2 separate regions of the Homo sapiens genome follow, and region 1 is linked to region 2. Evidence: promoter capture Hi-C in human tissues and cell types (Jung and others, 2019). All regions are on one chromosome and are shown on one strand. The core of a region is centred on a gene start or on the middle of the fragment in contact, and the rest is flanking DNA. Distances in the headings are between cores, read along the strand shown. Region 1 has its middle 140 kb from the start of RGS3. Region 2 holds the start of RNF183 (ring finger protein 183).

Region 1 (5,366 bases), core at 754-3,253, 300 kb before region 2:
TGAGTGCAGTGGCACCATCATAGCTCACTGCAGTCTTGAACTCCTGGGCTCAAGGGTTTCTCCCGTCTCAACCTCCTGAGTTCACTACCATGCCTGGCTGAGTTTTTTATTTTTTGTAGAGACAGGGTCTCACTATGTTATCCATAGTGAGGCTCCTAGTGAGGCTGGCCTCAAACTCCTGGCCTCAGGTGATCCTCCCACCTCGGCCTCCCAAAGTGTTGGGATTACAGGTGTGAGCCACTGCTCCCAGCCTCCTTCTAAACAAGTGTGGCCATGTGCTCAGTTCTGGCCAATGGGGTGTAAGGGAAAGTGTCATGTGACAGTTTCTGAGCACCTTCTCTAAGACATAACTGCAATTTACCTTTTACCCCCTCTTTCTTGGCCTCCAGCCTTGCGTGATGGCTGGAGCTCAAGCAGCCATCTTGGACAGGAAGTGGAAGCTACATTTTGAGGACGGCAAAGTAACAGACAAAATCAGGGTTCCTGATGATCACGAAAAGGCCATGCCAGCACTAGGCTGCTTCTACCTGAGTTTCCTTTATGGGAGAGAGAGAAACTTCTACCTTGTGTTTTTGTCACTTACAACAGAACTCAATCTTTACTCATGCAGTGGCTTCTTATCCAGACTTTTTGTTCATGGGCTTGTCCTGTGCAACCCACCATGCTAAGCAATATATGGCCTTTTATCCAATAAATAAGTATTTATTAAGCACCTACCATGCGCCAGGCACTGTGATTGATAAGCCTGGGGATACAGTGAGAAGACGGACAGGGTTCCTGCCCCAAGGGGCTTAAGCTTGAAAGGAAGAGACAGCGATGAATGAACATATGCGTGTGTGTAATTACAACCTGTGACAAGAGCCATGAAAGAGGAGGAGCAGGAGGCTTTGGGAGCAGTCAGCAGGGGCCCTCTTATAGTCAGGGTTATCAGGGAAGGCTTCCCTGAGGCAGTGACATCTAAACCAAGCTCTGGAGAAGAGGGGGAGGAATACAGCCTACTACTCAAGAGCACAGGCTTCAGAGCAAGCCCAGCCTGATACTGAGTACTGGGTAAACTGAGACCCAGAAAGTGAAGTAAGTTGCCCGAGTTTACACAACTAAGTGGAAGAGCTGGGAGTTCCCCTGAGCAATCTGTCCTCAGGCCTGGCCTCGGGGCACTAGGCTGTAGTGATTAATAATAATAGCTCTTAACTCCCAGGATTTTGGGGAGCATAAAAAAAGAAAATGTCAGTCAAGTACTTAGCACAGTGCCTGGAAAATATTAAATGTTAGCTATCATCCTCATCCTCCTCCTCCTCATCGTCATTAACTAAGGGAGCAGGGGAAAGAGTGTTCCAGGGAGGGAGGACTGCACGTGAAAGGCCCCAAATGGAAGGAAGCGTGGTGCATTCGAGGACCAGAAGGCAGACCAGCAGGGCTGAATGCAAATAGTTCACCCCTGCTTTTATTTGATCACAACAACTGTACTAGGTAACACCTATTATTAACTGGTTATAATCTCTTTAACTCTTTATAAATGTGGAAACAGTGGCCCAGAGAGGTTAAGCGACTTGCCGAAGGTCACGCAATAAAGAATCATCTGAACCTGGACTCAAGCCCAGGTCTGTCAGCCTCCAAAGCCCAAGCCCCCAGTTACCACCCTCCCCTTCCTTGGAATGGACAGAACTCGAGAGCAAGCCAGTTCCTGCTGCAATAGCACCTCAGAAGGAAAAGCTATACAGCCTGAGGCATCAGAGTCGGATGGCTCCTAGAGAGCACTTTGAACACGCCCCACCCATTTTTAAGATGGGGAAAGTGAGGCCCAGCGAGGAAAGGGACTTGCCACAGACAGATCGGCAGTGGAACTGGACTTATATTCCCAGACTGGAGGCTGTATTCCCCTCCAGTCTGGGGGCGGGCATCGGCTGTGCCTTGTTCAGGCCCTTCTTTTTTATATCTCCCTGGGGATAGCAAACTGAGCTGAATCCCCTGAGAGGGGTGGCTCCAGCAGGTGCTGTGTTTGTGTGTGCTGGGGGTAAAAAGTGGGGATGGACTTTGCCTCAAGGGCAGGAGCTTGTGAAAAACCAGCAGATCAGGTCCCCAGCCTGGCTGGAGGACACAGAGGGCAGTGTCCCCAGGGGCATGAACCCTGTAGACTGTGGAGCTCCTTGATAAACAGACTGCTCCATCCAAGTAGGCCTTCCAGTCCCCTGGGAAGCAGCTAAAAAGAGCCCTAGCAACTCGAATACACAGCTCACATACACTTGTGCATACGCACGCACGTGCACACACACCCCGCCGCGTACAGAGGCAGCTTGGCCTGGATCCCAGCCCCCCACACCCCCACAGAGCACCATCTGCCCCTTCCGAAGGTCCTCACGCAGGAGGAAAAGCTGGATTCTCCTTGTGTGTCAAGAGAAGAAGCCAAGGACCAGAGCAGAGAGGGGCCTCATCCAGGGTCACACAGAGGTTTGGGACAGATCTGAGCTCAAAGCCCAGAACTCCTGACTGCCAGGCCAGCTACCTGATGAGGCAGATGCTATTTGGTTGCCTTTGAAACAGCAGGCAGGCAGGACCCCGCTGAGCCCATGTGGAACCTAGGGCCCAAACCCCGCCCCCTTGGGGCCCTGCCCATGTCGTGTCATTGAGTCACTGCCTTGGAGCAGATGCGGGGGCAGCTTCCTCCTGCACAGCTGGTTGGGGCTTGGCCCGACAGTGCCTCCTGGACCAGCCTCCCTCCCTCTGCCCCGCAGGGCACACTCCCTCTGTGCCTGGCCTTGTGCTGAGGGTTCACACATATTCGTAAACCTGCCAAGTCCACGCGAGTCCCAGGAGGTGGAATTATTATTCCCATTTCATAGTTAAAACAACAGAGGCTCGGAGAGGTAAAGCAACTTGTCACACAGTTCTGAGAACTGAGATTCCTTGCAGGACCGGACATCCGCACATTCATAAACTCACCTATTCCTCGGACTTCCTTAGAAAAATTCTGCCCACAAGCCAAAGAGAACCAGCATCAAAAGCCCCCATCTGCAACTCCAGCTGAACCACTAAGTCTCACAGACTGGCTGCAGGTGTGGATTCTTTTGGAAAGCCCTGGCTGAGGCTGCCTGGAAGTCAGGGATAGAGGTCCCCATCCCTGTTCAGCCATGATGGGCTGTCCACTTTCTCTGAACCCTAATTTTCTCATTTGTAAACTGAAAATAATACTCAGCCCTTCCTCCCAGGGCTTTGTGAGGATCGATGGCAATGAGGCATGGAATGCGTGGTGTGTGCCTCTGCGTGGTCCTGGCTCCTATATCTACCTGCCACCTGGCACTGCCCTCCCCACCCCCAGCCATGCCTCCACTCTCTTCTGTACCCGGCAGATGGGATCAGTCCCACAGCTGTTCCTCAATCCCCCACTGCCTCCTCCCACCCAAGGAAGGGGGCACCACTTTCCTCCTCCCTTCCCTGGCTAGGGAGAGGACAGGCAAAGCCAGATGTTCCACAAATGTTGCCAGTTGTTAGCAAAACAACAACCAACAGGTGGCTTCTTTGAGACCCCTGTCAGGTCCATTGCTTGAGGGCCTGAGAGCTCTGAGGGAGCGGTGGGGCTGTGGAGGAGTCGCCAGGAGCCTGAGGTTTGGGCAGGAAGGGAGGTGAAGCAGAGAGGCCTTCAGGGGTGGGATGTCAGTGGGAAGAGTTTGGGGAGGGGACAGTAGGTTAAGGGACAAGGGGGTGCAGAGGCAGGGAGGTAGGGTGGGGAGCTGAGAGTTTGGTGCAAGCGAGAGGAGCAGGGAGGAGTGAAGCTGGAGAATCTGGTGGGTCCAGAGGTGGCTGCCTGGGCAGGAGACCTGCAGGGGTAGGACTAACCTATCCCTCCTTCCCCACCCTGCCCCAGGACCCGACTTCAGATGGAGAGAACTTTGGAACCCCCAAGGGGCTCCCAGGCCCTCCTGAGCTCCATCATGGAAGGAATCAAGCAGAAACTCTGGGGTCCTAAGTGCTGGGCAGCAGTTTAGACTCAATGGTCTCTTCCAAGCTGGAGAGTCTGGGAGGTCATAGCTGGCCCAAGACAGGTCAAGAGAGCACGTCACTCACATGGCAGAGGCCGAGAGCATGAGGGACTTGACTCTCCCACCAGGAGCCTGGCTGCAGTTGGCACCTCGGCAGCTATCATCCAACTGAGTGGCACCCCCTCCTGCTGGCATCCAACTGAGTGGCACTGCTGTGCCCTCTTGCCTCTCCACCCACCACAACCTATTTGCCAGCTGACCCCAACTGCTCCCAGCAGGGCCAAGACTGGGCAGCAGTACGGGAACAGGCTGTTTCTCACTTACTCCCTGGAATTGGCTGGCTTTGTCCTCCAGCAAAACTGTTCCTGGAAGGACAAGGATCTGGGGTCTGAGACCAAAGGCCCCCCCCATCTTCTCAGGCCTGGGCAAGTGGAGAATGTGACCTGTGACCTTGAATAATGAGATCGCTAACAGCAGCTCACGGTTATGAAGCACCTACCCCACGCCATGCACTGAACTAAACTTGTTGCATGCACGACCTCGCTTAGTCATTGCAACTCTGGGGTAAGTGCCAATGCGCACAATTTATAGATGAGAAAGCGGAGGGAAGGAGAGGGTACATGACTTCTTCAAAGGTTTGCAGCCATTAGTAAATGGTGGAGCCAGAGACTGAGCCCCAGAGCCTGACTCCAAGGCCCTTCAGCTCTACAGTGAAGAGTGCTGCTTCCCTTCCCTCCCCTCAGTCTTCCCATCTGTGGGATGGGGAGGAGCTGGTTGAAATGACATCACAGCTCTGTGATCCCACGTTGACCGCCTGGAATTGCCAGAGACTAGAGAGCACTGCTCCTTCCTCTCCTGTGAAAGAAAATGGGAACCAGCCCAAATGACACTGTACAGATGAGGCAACTGAGGCCTAAGCGGGCAGAGAATGTACCCAAGGTCCTCCAGGGAGCCCAGGCAGGGCCCAGGGCAGGGGGACCCAGACGCCTTTCTAGTCTGCCCTCCAGCTGCTCTGCACAGCCAAAGCCACTCGGAGGCCAAGGGAACCAGGGTGTGAGTAATGGAAACCAGGCAGTGGGGCCTTCCGAAATGGGAATTCCATCTGCCTGACTTTGTTCTCCCGGACTTTGGTTTCCATGGCAACTCTGGGAACCAGGAGGTTGGGAAGGTGGAAGAGGGAAGGCCTGGCCCTAAACTGAATCCCTAGAATATAAAGAACTGGAAAGGTGGGTCTCCTTGTGGACCCAGTGGCTCCTCCCAGCAGAAGATGCGAGAGAGGCCAGGTCAGGCAGGGAAGTCCTGGGCTCAGACCCAGTACTGCCTCTACCATTTTGGGGGAGTAGGGAGTAGTATTATAGTCTTCCCTGGGCCCCAGTTTTCCCAGCTGTC
Region 2 (5,822 bases), core at 1,842-4,341:
CTGGGCTCAAGTGATCCTCCCACTTCAGCCTTCTGAGTATCTGAGACAACAGGCATGTGCCACCACGCCCAGCTAATTTTTTATTTTTTTATTTTTTGTAGCAATGGGGTCGCTAGTCTTGAACTCCTGGGCTCAAGCAATCCTCCAACCTCGGCCTCCCAAAGTGCTGGGATTATAGGCATGTGCCCAGCCAACATGCACCGTTTTTTTGTTTTGTTTTGTTTTGGTTTTGGTTTGTTTGTTTGTGTTTTTTTTGAGATGGATTCTCTCTCTGTTGCCTGGGCTGGAATGCAGTGGTGCAATCTCGGCTCACTGCAACCTCCGCCTCCCAGGTTCAAGCGATTCTCCTGCCTCCTTAGCCTCCCAAGTAGCTGGGATTACAGGCACCTGCCACCACGCCCAGCTAAGTTTTTTTTTTTTTTGTATTTTTTAGTAGAGACGGGGTTTCAACATATTGGCCAGGCTGGTCTCAAACTCCTGACCTTGTGATCCGCCTGCCTCGGCCTCCCAAAGTGCTGGGATTACAGGCGTAAGCCACCGTATCCGGCCAACATGCACCATTTTTAAGCTGCTTTCCCCCTCCATTTACAGTATACTGTGACCATTTTTAAAAGTCAATGAAAATCTTTCTATATCATTTTAAATGATTATGTAGTTTTTCACCTAATTGATGGGGTTTTGGAGTGTTTTCAATCATTTGTGATTAAAATAAAACTGCAATGAATATCCTCACTCAACCAAAATATATCTTTTTGATGCTTCTGGGGAATTACATGATTAGGTCAAAGTAGATGAACTTCTTTATGTTTTCTTATGTTGCCAAGCCAGAAAGCGTGACTTCCAAACTCTCAAATACAAACCAGGTTCTTTGGACTAAATCAGTGTCTCGAATCCCCAGTAACCTCAGTTAACCAGTAGTGACACCGAAAAGCAGGGAATTCCAGAGCTGAGAGGAACTTTGAGGCCATCGGTGATCATATACCTCGTCTCCAGCTCAGAAAGAGGAGAATTACTTAGACATTTTCTTTAGAGATCTAAAACTTCCCAAAGTCCACAGTTTTATTTTCACACAATTCTAGGCTAACTTAAAATCAGCATTTTTGCATTATTCTTTCATTCAATATTTATATATTTATAATGAGGGGGTTAGATCAATAGGGGATTGGTGAAGTGATTTATGGTACAGCCATTCAATGAAATCTGATACAACCATTAAAAAACCGAAGAAGGTCTTCTTTTTTTTTTTTTGCTCTGTCGCCCAGGCTGGAGTGCAGTGGTACAATCTCAGCTCACTGCAACCTCTGCCTCCCAGGTTCAAGCGATTCTCCTGCCTCAGCCTCCTGAGTAGCTGGGACTACAGGTGTGCACCATGACGCCGGCTAATTTTTGTATTTTTAGTAGAGACGGGGTTTCACCATGTTGGCCAGGCTGGTCTTGAACTCCTGACCTCAAGTGATCCACCCGCCTTGGCCTCCCAAAGTGCTGGGATTACAGGTGTGAGTCACAGCGCTGGGCCAAAAACCGAAGAAGGTCTTTATGTACTAATACAGAATGATATCTCAAATACATCATCAAATGAAAAAAGAAAAATGCAGAACAGTGTACATAATATGCACATTTGTGTAAAAAGGAGGTAAAGGAATACATAGATGTTTTGCCATGGACATGCTGTTTGTGTATGTATAAAACATCTTTGGAAAGATACACAACAAACTGATAGTATAATACTTTGATTTCCAGGGAAACTAGGTGGCTGCGAAGAGACAGTTTTCACTGTGAAATCAAACCATTCACATGCTCAACCATGTAAATATATTACCTATTTAAAAATCAAATGTGGGCACGGTGGCTCAAGTGTAATCTTAGCACTTTTGGCAAGTGGATTGCTGGAGCCCAGGAGTTTGAGACCAGCCTAGGCAACCTGGAGAAACCCCATCTCTACAAGAAATACAAAAATTAGCCAGCCACGGTGGCATGCACCTGTAGTCCTAGGTACTCAGGAGGCGGAGGTGGGAAGACTGCTTGACCCCAGGAGGTTGAGGCTGCAGTGAGCTGTGATCGTGCCACCGCACCCCAGCCTGGATGATAGAGTGAGACTCTGTCTCAAAATAAATCAATACATAAAAATTAATGTAAAAAAACACAAAATGCGGGGACTAGGGCATTTGATTACATCACCAAGCAGATACATTTATTTACTTGTTTATTTCTCAAGTATGGCTGAAAATGTCAGTAAAGAAATAAGGGGCCAGGCGCGGTGGCTCATGCCTGTAATCTCAGCACTTTGGGAGGTCGAGGCAGGTGGATCACCTGAGGTCAGGAGTTTGAGACCAGCCTGGCCAACAAGGCGAAATCCTGTCTCTACTAAGAATGTAAAAATTAGCCGGGCATGGTAGCGCGCACCTGTAGTCCCAGTTACTCGGGAGGCCGTGGCAGGAGAATTGCTGGAACCAGGGAGGTGGGGGTTACAGTGAGCCAGTATCGCCCCACTGCACTCTAGCCTGGGCGACAGAGCAAAACTACGTCTTAAAAAAAAAAAAAAAAAAGAAAGAAAAAAAAAAAGAAAGAAAGAGAGAGAGAAAGAAAAGAGGACCATAGGTACAAAAAGAATTTGAGCGGGAACAAAAGATGGGCCACGTGAACAGACCGGTTATAACAATAATAGTTCTGGTTAACATTTAGCGAGTTACTGTCTGCCAGGCCCTGTGTTATTACGCGATCTCGACACGTATTACCTCATTTAATCTACAGATCAAGTAGGTAGGTTATTATGGCCATTTTCAGGTGAGGAAACTGAGGCTGGCAGAAGTTAATTAATTTGCTCAAGTCTCCATCGGTAGTTAAACGGAGTTTGGATTCTCAGTGAGGGCTGAACTCTGACCTAGAAGTGTGCCTTGCTTGAGAACCCTGGCTCTTCAGGCAGACGCTCAACCGTCTCCCGACTATTTTTCTGCTGTATTAGTGGCCGCTTTTGTCAGTATTTTGCAAGAGCTATCTGTATTTTGGTTACAGGGACTCAGCATAGGGAAGGATCCATCTCGGCAGAAGCCAGGAGTCGAGGCAGGTCAGCGCACAGAGGACAGTGGAATCCGAGGGGATGGCAGGAGATCAATCGGACCCAGAACAGAGGCCTGCAAGGATGAGCGCACTTGATCCCCTCAGAGAAAAAGCCAGAGTGACTCACAGGAGAAAGACAAAGCAACCAAAGCTTCCAGGGTGTACAGGAGGTCCAAAGTCACCAGAAGGAAGAAGAAAACCTGAAACAGCGAGAGCTGGCCAAACGCTGCTAAGACCTATGCAAATAAGACCCACCCACGCTACCTGGAAATCGGGCCTGGGAAGTCAGAAAACAAAGCACATGCGTGCAGGGCTGCACGAACGGAGGCGGAGGAGGCGGCTCCGAGGGAGCAGGTAAGGAGACAGAGAGGGTCGCGGAGGGACGGGTCACAGGGCTCCAGAGTCCAGAGAGGCAGCAGCCGTGCAGCGCGCGACAGGTGAACTCTGGCCTGGGAGGGCAGGCTACTGGGTTCATCTTTCAAACTCAGCCACTCTTTAGCTGGGAAGACTTCGGCAAGTTGCCTCACCCTTCTGAGCCTTGGCTTCCCCATCTAGAAAATGGGTCTAAAAATAATCATGCTAACTCTGTATTGAGCGCCTTCCGTATTCTACTGGGCACCGTATAGACTATTCCTTCCCCAGAGCAACCTTGTAGGAGTGGGATGATTAGCCTTTTTTACAGAGGAAAATGAAGTTCAGAGAGGTTAAGCCATTTGTCCAAGACAAATTGTTCCAAATCTGGTTCCAAAGCCGGCACCTTTCTACTCCCCATTCAGCCTCTCTCACAGGGTGGTTTTAGAGTATCAAATGGCTTTCTGCAAACAACAACAAAAAATCCCAAAAGGCTAGTAACCTATCTAGATGGATCACCACACTTAGATCTTAGCAAGGGCCAGGGCCCTTTGTAAACTGTGAAGTGCTATGGAAATGCCAGTTCTTGGTTGAAAACAATGGAGTGATGCTGGGGACAATTGATATTTGGCGATGACTTGTTCATAGACCAAGGAGATGACTTTGGGGCGGTGTTTAGGATTTACTGTAGCTGAGATGTCCTGGCTTGGGGTGGAGGTGATACATGGCCAGAATCTCTCCCCAGCTGATCCTGAAACAGCAGTGGATCCCTGGGAGAGCAGCACAGATAAAGATCCAGGCAATAATGATGCTTCCTCCTCTTGGACAGCCTTTTACAGTTCTGGCCATGGAACTTCAGAGAAGGTAGGTCTGATTTGGGGGGAAACAGGAGATCTTGACGTGTAGTAATACAAGCTTACTGGATGGAGTAAAGTTAGAATTTTCAGGTAAGAGAATTAAAAAAAAAAAAAAAACTTATAATCTTGCCCCCAGAGATAACCACTGCTAATATCTGGTTGTTTATCTCTCCAGACATTTTTTCCATTGCACACACACTTTTGGAAATTGGATTATATGGTAATATGGTTTTGTTGCTGGTTCTTTTTCGCTTAATGACATTATATCCTAGGTATATATCCATATTAATAGTTTTACCACATCATATTAAAGGCTGCATAATATCTCTTCCTATGGATGGAGCAGAATCTACTTAATCAATGTCCTATTACTGGATGATGACGTAGTTCTCCATACGTCACCGTTAAACCAGCGCCTGGATGGGCATCTCTTTACTCACATCTTTGCAGAAGTCCTTGATGGTTTCCGTGGAATCGATTCCCAGTGGGGGAAATGATGAGTCAAGGTTACATACAGTTTACGGCCTCTGGTAAGTATTAAAGATCTGCTTCTAACACACTCTGGGATTCAGGGGCTTCTCAAAGCTTGATGCAGAGGACTTTGTCACGGCTTTGAAATCAACCTTGACCCTTCCTTTCTCTCAAATCCATTTGCATTAATAATTTCAACTGCCTCATATATCCATAACAATGTTTTGATCAACAGTGAATTACATATGTGATGGTGGCCACCTAAGATTATAATACCATATATTTACCTTGCCTTTTCTAAGTTTATGTTGAAAGACACACGCAATTATCATTGTGTTACAATTGCCTACAGTGTTCAGAACATAATAAGCTGTATGGGTTTGTAGCCTAGGAGCAACAGGCTAGACCGTATAGCCTAGGCATGTAGCAGGCTCTACCATCTAGGTTTGTGTAAATACTCTCTGTGCTGTTCATACAACGATGTGTTTCTGAGAACATAGTCCCATTTTTAGGTCATGCATTGCTTTGTGGTCTTTACTGGGTGCTGGGCTCTAACTAAAAGCTTTACTAGTTTTGGCTTCCTTTGCACAAGGAGAAATAGAGGCACAGAGAGGTCAAGCAATTCAACTGGAATCACAGCCCTAAATAGCCATGGATCTGGCATCATGAACCTTGACAGAAACTACAACTGGATCCCTAGAACTCCACTGCTTCTTGGGAAGTGGCTTTGATTCTGTCCCCAAAGATATCACTTATCCCATCCCCTTTTATCTCCTCTGCCACTGCCTAACCTGCACCACCATCACACGCCTGAGCCACACTGCTGCAGCCCGAACGGGTGTTCCCTTCCCGATCTTATCCCTCTCAGCCTGTCCTCTGCTCTGCAGCTAGAATGGTGTTTTAAAAATGGAAATAGGATCAGGTACCTTACCCTACCGCTCACCCCTGGAATAAAATCCAGATGAGCTCCTGAGTTCACAGGTCCCGAGTACTATACCCTCCCACCTTGCCTACTCCGGTCACCACACCTTGATCACCCTGGGCTCCTTTCACTTTCTCAAATTGGAAGAGCTTTTCTCACCTCGG

Evidence for each region. The method cuts DNA at HindIII sites, captures the fragments that hold promoters and counts their contacts. A contact is called where the count stands out against the background at its distance.
Region 1: a contact is called between a fragment that was not itself captured here and the fragment with the promoter of RNF183 in region 2, in 1 of the 25 tissues and cell types used here (spleen).

Annotation. Positions count from the first base shown.
Region 1 is chr9:113,599,521-113,604,886 of GRCh38, reverse strand. No RefSeq gene overlaps it. Among named protein-coding and RNA genes, the nearest start is that of RGS3, 140 kb to the right of the region's middle. RefSeq lists a silencer at 2,575-2,654 and an enhancer at 4,555-5,366. The HindIII fragment of the contact is 8,415 bases long and covers 1-5,366 here.
Region 2 is chr9:113,300,645-113,306,466 of GRCh38, reverse strand. RNF183 (ring finger protein 183) reads left to right here and starts at 3,091. Exons shown (of 5, transcript NM_001371237.1): 1 at 3,091-3,411; 2 at 4,154-4,272; 3 at 4,716-4,795. RefSeq lists an enhancer at 651-820. The HindIII fragment of the contact is 15,296 bases long and covers 1-3,766 here.